2 separate regions of the Homo sapiens genome follow, and region 2 is linked to region 1. Evidence: promoter capture Hi-C in human tissues and cell types (Jung and others, 2019). All regions are on one chromosome and are shown on one strand. The core of a region is centred on a gene start or on the middle of the fragment in contact, and the rest is flanking DNA. Distances in the headings are between cores, read along the strand shown. Region 1 holds the start of VWDE (von Willebrand factor D and EGF domains). Region 2 overlaps LOC107986770 (a long non-coding RNA gene).

What was found. The method cuts DNA at HindIII sites, captures the fragments that hold promoters and counts their contacts. A contact is called where the count stands out against the background at its distance.
Region 2: a contact is called between a fragment that was not itself captured here and the fragment with the promoter of VWDE in region 1, in 1 of the 25 tissues and cell types used here (dorsolateral prefrontal cortex).

Annotation. Positions count from the first base shown.
Region 1 is chr7:12,401,931-12,405,929 of GRCh38, forward strand. It overlaps VWDE (von Willebrand factor D and EGF domains), which reads right to left and starts at 1,935. Exons shown (of 29, transcript NM_001135924.3): 1 at 1,729-1,935. The coding sequence starts at 1,786. RefSeq lists enhancers at 1,223-1,790, 1,791-2,356 and silencers at 1,493-1,787, 1,681-1,730, 2,668-2,857. The HindIII fragment of the contact is 10,470 bases long and covers 1-3,999 here.
Region 2 is chr7:13,500,527-13,504,525 of GRCh38, forward strand. The region is part of intron 2 of LOC107986770 (a long non-coding RNA gene); the gene reads left to right. Among named protein-coding and RNA genes, the nearest start is that of ETV1, 490 kb to the right of the region's middle. The HindIII fragment of the contact is 7,390 bases long and covers 1-3,999 here.

The DNA of each region.
Region 1 (3,999 bases), core at 685-3,184:
ATATCCACACAATGGAACATTATTCTATCTTAAAAAGGAATGAAATACTGGTACATGCTACAAGATGAATGAACCTTGATAATACTGTGCTAGATGAAGTAAGCCAGTCACAAAAGACAACCTATTATATGATTCAGTTTACATAAAATATCCAGAATAGGCAAATGCAATGAGACAGAAAGTAGATTAGTAATTCCTTATCGCTGGGGAGAAAGGGAGGGTGATAGCCGGCATGCGGCATGATAGCCCAGGGTATAGTATTTCTTTCTGATTGATAAATATGTTCTAAAATTGACTGTGGTCATCGCTGCATATACCTGTAAATATACTCTGAATATACACATATCTGTGAAAATGAAAAACCATAGAGTCGCACACTTTGAGTGATTTGTATGGTATATGAACATCTTAATAAAGCTATTTGAAAAAAAGAAGTCTCAATAAATGCATTTTCCATTTACCTCGTCTTCTAGTTTTACTCCATTAAACATAAAGAACTTGACAATGTTACCAATGTTATGAACTTAAAACCTGGTAATGGGTAATATTTGTCTTCAGCAGAGAGATTACAAAGCTATTATATAGAGGCAAAAAAGGGTTATGCGGTCTATAGTAAACATGAAATCATCTTCCTTTATAAACATTGGTCATTTTTTTCCTGGAAATATTTATCTAACTGTAATGAACAGATATATGTTATTACATGTATTTTTTAAAGTTATTCATAAAGATTTAGTAACGCTGTAAGCAAACCAAAGAAGGACCAGAAAAAATATCATTGCAGAAAATAATAAATTTGATTTTAGTATTTTATTTTTAAGTTTTGTATAGGATAGTGTTTGTATTCCCCTTATACAAAGCAAACTTACATCAGTAAAATGAGTTAAGATCAAAAAATGATAAGACAAAACTATACCCTGGACTGCTATAAATGTTGTACATAATGTTTTTTCAAGCTGCAGATGGTTGAACACAGATCAGACTTTTTCTGAAAAACGTAAGGAAACTTGCAATATAAGAACAAGTCACCTTTCATTAATATTCCTATCTGTATGAACACAAAAAACAAGCAAAAAGGGCTAATGAAAGTAGTTTTGGTTTAACTTCACTGTATTTTAAACTAAATGTTCTTTGTCATGGATTAAAGAAGTAGGAGGGGAGTATTCGCTCCACAGAGATCTCTTTTACAGTGCCAAAACTGATTCTAACATATATATACAAAAACCATAATACAGTATAATACGGATATACAAAACTTAACTTGGTGATTTATTGTAGGGATAAAATGTTCACCAATGAATTATTTCTGAGGGTCCGGTTGGAGGTGGAATTCGTGCAGTATGGAATTCAACTCTGTTCTGAGAATTCAGGTCCACTTGCGGCTAGCATACCTTGCAGATCCGGCGAAAGTTTCTTACAGTAAATTACAATGACCTCAAAGAGCAGGATAACAGCAGGAAACAACCAAAAACAGAACCAAGGGTCGTAGAGTAAGAGGAGGCAACAACCGCATGTGCGCAAAAGAAAAGTGTAGAGTTTTCAAGCTGGAAATTGACCTTTTCAAAGACAGCAGAGGGACAGAGAGGAGGCGGGTGAGGAACAAACATCGCTTGCTGCCTTAAAACGCACAGGGACGCTCCCCAAGTCGTCCAAAAAGTCTAGCCTAGTCCCTCTACCGCCCACGCGGCGCCACTGCGCGCCCACCCCCGCGCGCCCTACCTCGCTTACCTTCCCCCCAGGCCAGGAACATCAGCGCGATCACCAGCACGCAGGCTCCGCCAGGCATCGCTGCTTCCGCAGGTGGGGCGAAAGGCGTCGCAGAGCCCGGGCCGCGGGTGCCAGGAGGATGGGGCCACAGCAGCCCCTCGGGCCTCCTTTCTTGGATTTTCTCAGTCTGTTGCTGCTTGGAACAGGGAAGCTCCGCGTCCTCGTTCTGGGGTGCACCCAGTCCTTTCGTGGGATAGAGCCTTCGCGTAATCCGTCTGCGACTCCTCCCTTCCCATTTTGGCTGCTGGCTGACCTGAAAGCCACGCCCAACCTGTCCCCATAGCCCAGCGTGTACCGGCAGTGGCTCCGCCGCCTTGGATGTCACCGTGCAGTCGCACAGCCAGGAGTCAAGCTACAGGGATGTAGCTCTCCGCCCGCTGCGTCTTGCTGTTCTAACAGAGGCTGTATGAAAACTTGGTAATCCTAGAAACTGCTCAGATGGACCTCGCATAAAAGAAGCCTCACAAGGTTCCGTTGGAAGGGGAAGTTTCCCATGATTGTATCTGCAGACGGATTCCTAACTGCGTAATGGGCGCTACTGGTTTGCACCCCAAGGCGAAGGCGCTGAAAATGCTCCTGTCACCTTAGATCTCAGTGATGAACGACAGGAGGAGGAGTAGACACTAACGTTGCAACAGTAGATGCCTTTTCTTCTGCCTCTGTGACAGGTTTTCAGAAGTGGAAAGGACCGCATTTAGACACTAGCCAAACCATGAGGTTTGTCACCTGTATTTGCCAGTGATTCCCAGAGCTCTTACAGTTGTCCCAGGACGCTTTAGCACATGGCCACACGACTCCCAAGGTTGACCTGGGAGTTATTAGAAGATCAGAGGGCTCTAATGTCTTCCCCCAACCTCGTTTTTGTTTTGTTTTGTTTTGTTCGAGACAAGGTCTCACTCTGTCACCCAGGCTGGAGTGCAGTGGCACAGTCACAGCTCGCTGGAGCCTTGAACTCCTGGCGTCAAGCGATCTTCCCCCTCAGTCTCCCAAAATGCTGGGATTACAGGCGTGAGCCACCGTGCCAGGTCTAAGGTCTTCAGAAGTGTGGTTGCCTCTGCAGAGGAACAGGGTCCTTTTTTCAACTGATTCTACATCTTTTTATGTCTGAAAATGAAACCTCACTGTCCTAGTTTTTCCCTGGCTGTCTCATTCCTTGAGTCTCCCATCCATCACCTTGCACTTGGTTCTCACAGAGCCTTTACCTGAAGAGGATAGTTTGGGGGTCCAAGTGGGCACCAAGGTTCCACCCACAAATTTGGAGGTTCAAGGTTGGCCTAGGCATGGTGGTGGAAACAGGAGGTGTCCAAATGCATAAACAAGTATTTTTTTAATTTCATATAATTCTTTATTTTTAATTTGAAAGGTAAATTACCATTTAAAATTTTAAAGCTTATCATCTCCATAGTAAAAATATTAACCCATATTGGAAATAATTTCTTTTTGGTACACAATACTTGTGTGTAGCCATCTTTCAAATGCAGCAAGGGCACCCAATTTTCTGGATTAAAAATAAAATATTACTTTTTGGTGGACGGTAGACAGGTGATTTTTATCTTAAGGCTTAAGTATGGAAGGGCAATATAATGTAGGCACAATGAAAACCCAGAGATTTCTTAGTGTACAGTTAAGTCTTTTGTTTCCGCTTAAAAAATTCTAATAAAACAGACAAGAAATTAAATGTCAGTTTTCTCAATCTATTTGTGAAATCACCAGGAACAAAGTAATTTGATGTGAATCAAATCATAGCAGGACTTTTGTGAATTTATTTTCTAGCAGTATCTATACAAATGTAGTAAACTTTTATACTTTCTTGGAGGACAACATTACTTATCTGACTTCCATCAAAATACAATTTCAGGTATCGTGGGCCTTATTTTTTTCTTCAGTTTTTGATTGTTTATGAGTTTATGAGTTTACAATAAACTTGTGCCAAAACCCAACTTCCCTCCATGTGACTAAAGATGGAAAAAACTAAAAGCAACTTAAGAATTTTTTTTCAAGTCTCAGTAACCTGGCTTGGATCTGCAAGAATGTATCAATTAAATGCTGGTTATATCACGCCTGTAATCCCAGTGCTTTGGGAGGTCGAGGCAGGCGGATCACCTGAGGTCAGGAGTTCAAGACCAGCCTGGCCAACATGGTGAAACCCCATCTCTACTAAAAATACAAAACATTAGATGGGCGTGGTGGCGTTCGCCTGTAGTCCCATCTACTCGGGAGGCTGAGGCAGGA
Region 2 (3,999 bases), core at 718-3,217, 1.1 Mb after region 1:
ATTTGTGTGCTTCCTTTCTATGTGAGTCACCTGGAAATATCTTCATGTTCTTTGAGTGACGGCAAAAAAACACATCAACCTTTTATTTAAGCTCTTATACTGTGCCGCGTGTTGAAACAGAAGTCAGTGAATAATACTTATTTTTAACTGCCTTAGAAATTAAGAAAGTATCTAATTTAGATAAGAAAAACTCCATGTATTTCAAAATAAGAGAAAACATAAAGCTTTTGACAAAAATGTATATAGGAATCTGTGTGTCTATAGACAAAATACACTATATCTTTACTGCAATCATTACGTAAGAAATCTATACTTTTTAATAACCAAGGAAAACCCTAAAATACTAAAGTGGACTTTTCTTCACAGGTAAAATGCTATTAATTAGACAAATGCATTTACTCAGGCACACCCAAACTTATACATACGTAGCTTTTGCATGAAATTTAAATATTTAGCACTTCATGAAACTGAAATGTTTAGCACCTCTAAAGTGTAGAATGACCCTTGGAATCAGGATGAAGAAAAGGGCATGCCACAAATAATGTTTTTCCTGTGGGAAAACATGCTGATGTATCACAATATTTCCATTCATTGGAAAAGAAAACATATGAAAGCATGTGAAAGAATTAGAAATGATAATTCCCACTATCAATATTCCAACACTTACTTTGGTCCTTATTGGATGAAAAACTTAATTACCAAAATCCAGATATAAATCATTTATTTAGTCATGTAAAACCAAAAATTCTTAGTAATTTTATAAGTTCCTTAAGGTTAGTGGAGTCTTGAGTCCAGATATAAATCATTAATTTTATAAGTTCCTTAAGATTAGTGGAGTCTTGAGTCTTATGAAGATTCAATATAATTTAGAGATTCAAATTTAGGTTCAAATGAGCAATGCTCACTTATCCTGGGCTGATATTATAATCTAATTTTGAAATAAAGGAAGTTTTACAAATGTAGCTTCAGAACAAAATGATTTTAAGTCTAGAAGTGTTTCTTTCAAAGTTACAATACATTATATGAAACCATTTCATAAACTGACCCTGATTTTGAAGCTCATCTCCTAGGAGGTAACCTGAAAAATCAATTTTAATATAGAATAATTATTAAACCTTTATTCTAAGATCTCAGGTATATCTAATCATGGTCTATTTGAACAGTAGTGTCAGATCCAAAAGTATCCTCTAATAACAAATAAGATAATTCTCTCCTAGAAACTTCAAATTGAATACAACAGTAAGACATATATTCCTTGTACTGAGAATTCTGTATTCAATAAATCAAGCTTATAATTTTGCTTATCTTATCCATATCTTTACTAATTTTGGTCTTATTAATCTATCAGTGACTGTAAGAAATGTGTTGGAATCTCCTTCCTTGGTAGAGAATTTGTCCATTTCGTTTTGTAATTCTTTCCAATTTTTCTTGTATACTTTGAGGTTATTTTTATTAGTGACTTATAAGTTTATAATTGTTATTATAATATTACCAAATCAAGCCCTTTACATGATGGGACTCTGTATATAATAATGCTTTTAAGTTGAAGTCTATTTTGTCTTACTTAATATAGTTAACTCAGCTTTCTTTAGATTATTATTTACCTAGTGTATCTTGTTAATCCTTTACTTCAAACCTTGCCATGCCGTATGTTTTAGAAGTGTCTTTTATAAATACCATATAGGTAGATTCGTATGAACCCAATCTGAAAATTCAATCTTTTAAAAAATCACTTACTTTTCTGGGATACTTCAAAGAAAATAGCAAACAGCATACTCCACCACAAAATTCCTTAAATCTCAAAAAACATTCTTTATATGCAAAAAAAAATTATTACCTGTTATGGACTGAACTTTTGTGTGCCTCCCAAATTCATACATTAATTTCTTAACCCTCAATGCAATGGTATTAGGAGGTAGAGCCTTTGGCAAGTAATTAGGTCATGAGGATGGGGTGCTTATGCATGGGACTAGTGCTCCTATAAAAGGGTCCTCAGAGGCCCCTCTCACCCTCTTTCTTCCATGTTAGGATACAATGGGAAGCTGGCAGTCTGTAACCTAGAGGAGGGCCCTCGCCAGAATTCAACCGTGCTGGCACCTTGATCTCAGACTTTCAGCATCTGGAATTATGGCAAATATATTTCTGTTGTTCATAAGACACCCAGTTTATGGTATTTTGGTATAGTAGTGTTGACTAGGACAACACCTGCGATGCTTAATTTTTTGTGTCAATTTGGGTAAACTGTAGTGCACAGTTGTTTTGTCAAACACTAGTCTAGATGTTACTGTGAAGGTATTTTTTTAGATGTGATTAAGATTTACAATCAATTGACTTTATGTAAAAGCAGATCACCTCTCATAATGTGTGTAGGCCATATTCAATCCGTGAAGGTCTACACAAAGACAGCTTTCCTGAATAAGAAAGAATTCTGCCTCAAGACTGCAATATAGAAATCTTGCAGCAGGGCACAGTGGCTCACGCCTGTAATTCCAATACTTTGGGAGGCTGAGGTGGGTGGATCACCTGAGGTTAGGAGTTTGAGACCAGCCTGGCCAATGTGGCGAAACTCCATCTCTATTAAAAACACAAAAAATTAGCTGGGCATGGTGGCAGGCGCCTGTCATCCCAGCTACTTAGGAGGCGGGAGAATTGCTTGAACCCGGGAGGCAGAGGTTGCAGTGAGTGAAATCACACCATTGCACTCCAACCTGGGCGACAGAGCGAGAATCTGTCTCAAAAAAAAAAAAAAAGAGAGAAAGAAATCTTGCTTGAGTTTCGGCCTGCTGGCCTACCATTCAGATTTCAGACTCAAGACTGTAACATCAACTCTTTCCAGAATTTTCAGCCTGCCAGCCTGCCCTACAGAATTCAGACTTGTCAGCCTCCACAATCAGGTAAGACAATTCCTTAAGAAAAAAACCTCAATCTCTCTCTGTTTTCCTTCTTCTCACTCTCTGTTTTTTCTACCTCAATATAGATATAGATATAGATGACATAGATATACATACAGATATAGATAATATAGATATAGCTGTATCTTTAATTAGTTCTATTTCTGTGGTGAAGCCTGACTAAAAGAACATGTAATACATTTAATAAAATATAGCCGGGCGCGGTGGCTCATGCATGTAATCCCAGGCATGGGCGGTCGAGGTGAGTGGATCACTTGAGGCCATTCAAGACCAGCCTGGCCAACATGGTGAAACCCCATCTCTACTAAAAACACAAAAACTAGCCAGGCATGATGGCGCACGCCTGTAATTCCAGCTACTCGGGAGACTGAGGCAGGAGGATGGCTTGAACCTGGGAGGCGGAGGTTGCAGTGAGCCCTAAGTGGTGCCACTCTACTCCAGCCTGGGTGACAGAGTGAAATTCTGTCTTTAAAAAAAAAACAAACAAAAAAAAAAAAAAAAAAACAACAACAACAATTATATATTACCTCACATCCAGTTCTTAGCCAAATGTCCCTGATTCCTTTAAATGTTTAAGTCACTGTCTACTTCAGGAGTATACATTGCATCAGGCTGTTATGTCCCTCAGCCCTCTTTAATCTAGAGTAATCTTTTCTATGATACCAATTTGCTGAATAAATATTAACAGTTGTCCTGTACAATGTGCCACATTCGAGAATCAATAGATTACTTTCTGATGATCTTCCTATATGCCTGTTATGTCCTGGATGTTAGAGATAAAGTGTTCATTCAATTGAAGATCAACAGTTTTGGCAAGAATTTATCAGAGCTAATGTTTAAAATTTTGTATGGCATCGTATCAGGAGACATATAACGTTTGGGTCCTGCGATTAGGTACTTACTGGTTAGGATAGCAACAGACTAATCTTTTTTATGTAAAGTTGCACTTTTCCTCTTGTAATCAGAAAATAATCTGTGTGGTGTCATGATGCCACTTTGGCACTATAGGAATGTCCCATTCTCTTTCATTCTTTTATCACTGTTAGCATATTTATTAGCTTGACATTCTTCTGTAAACTAGAACATT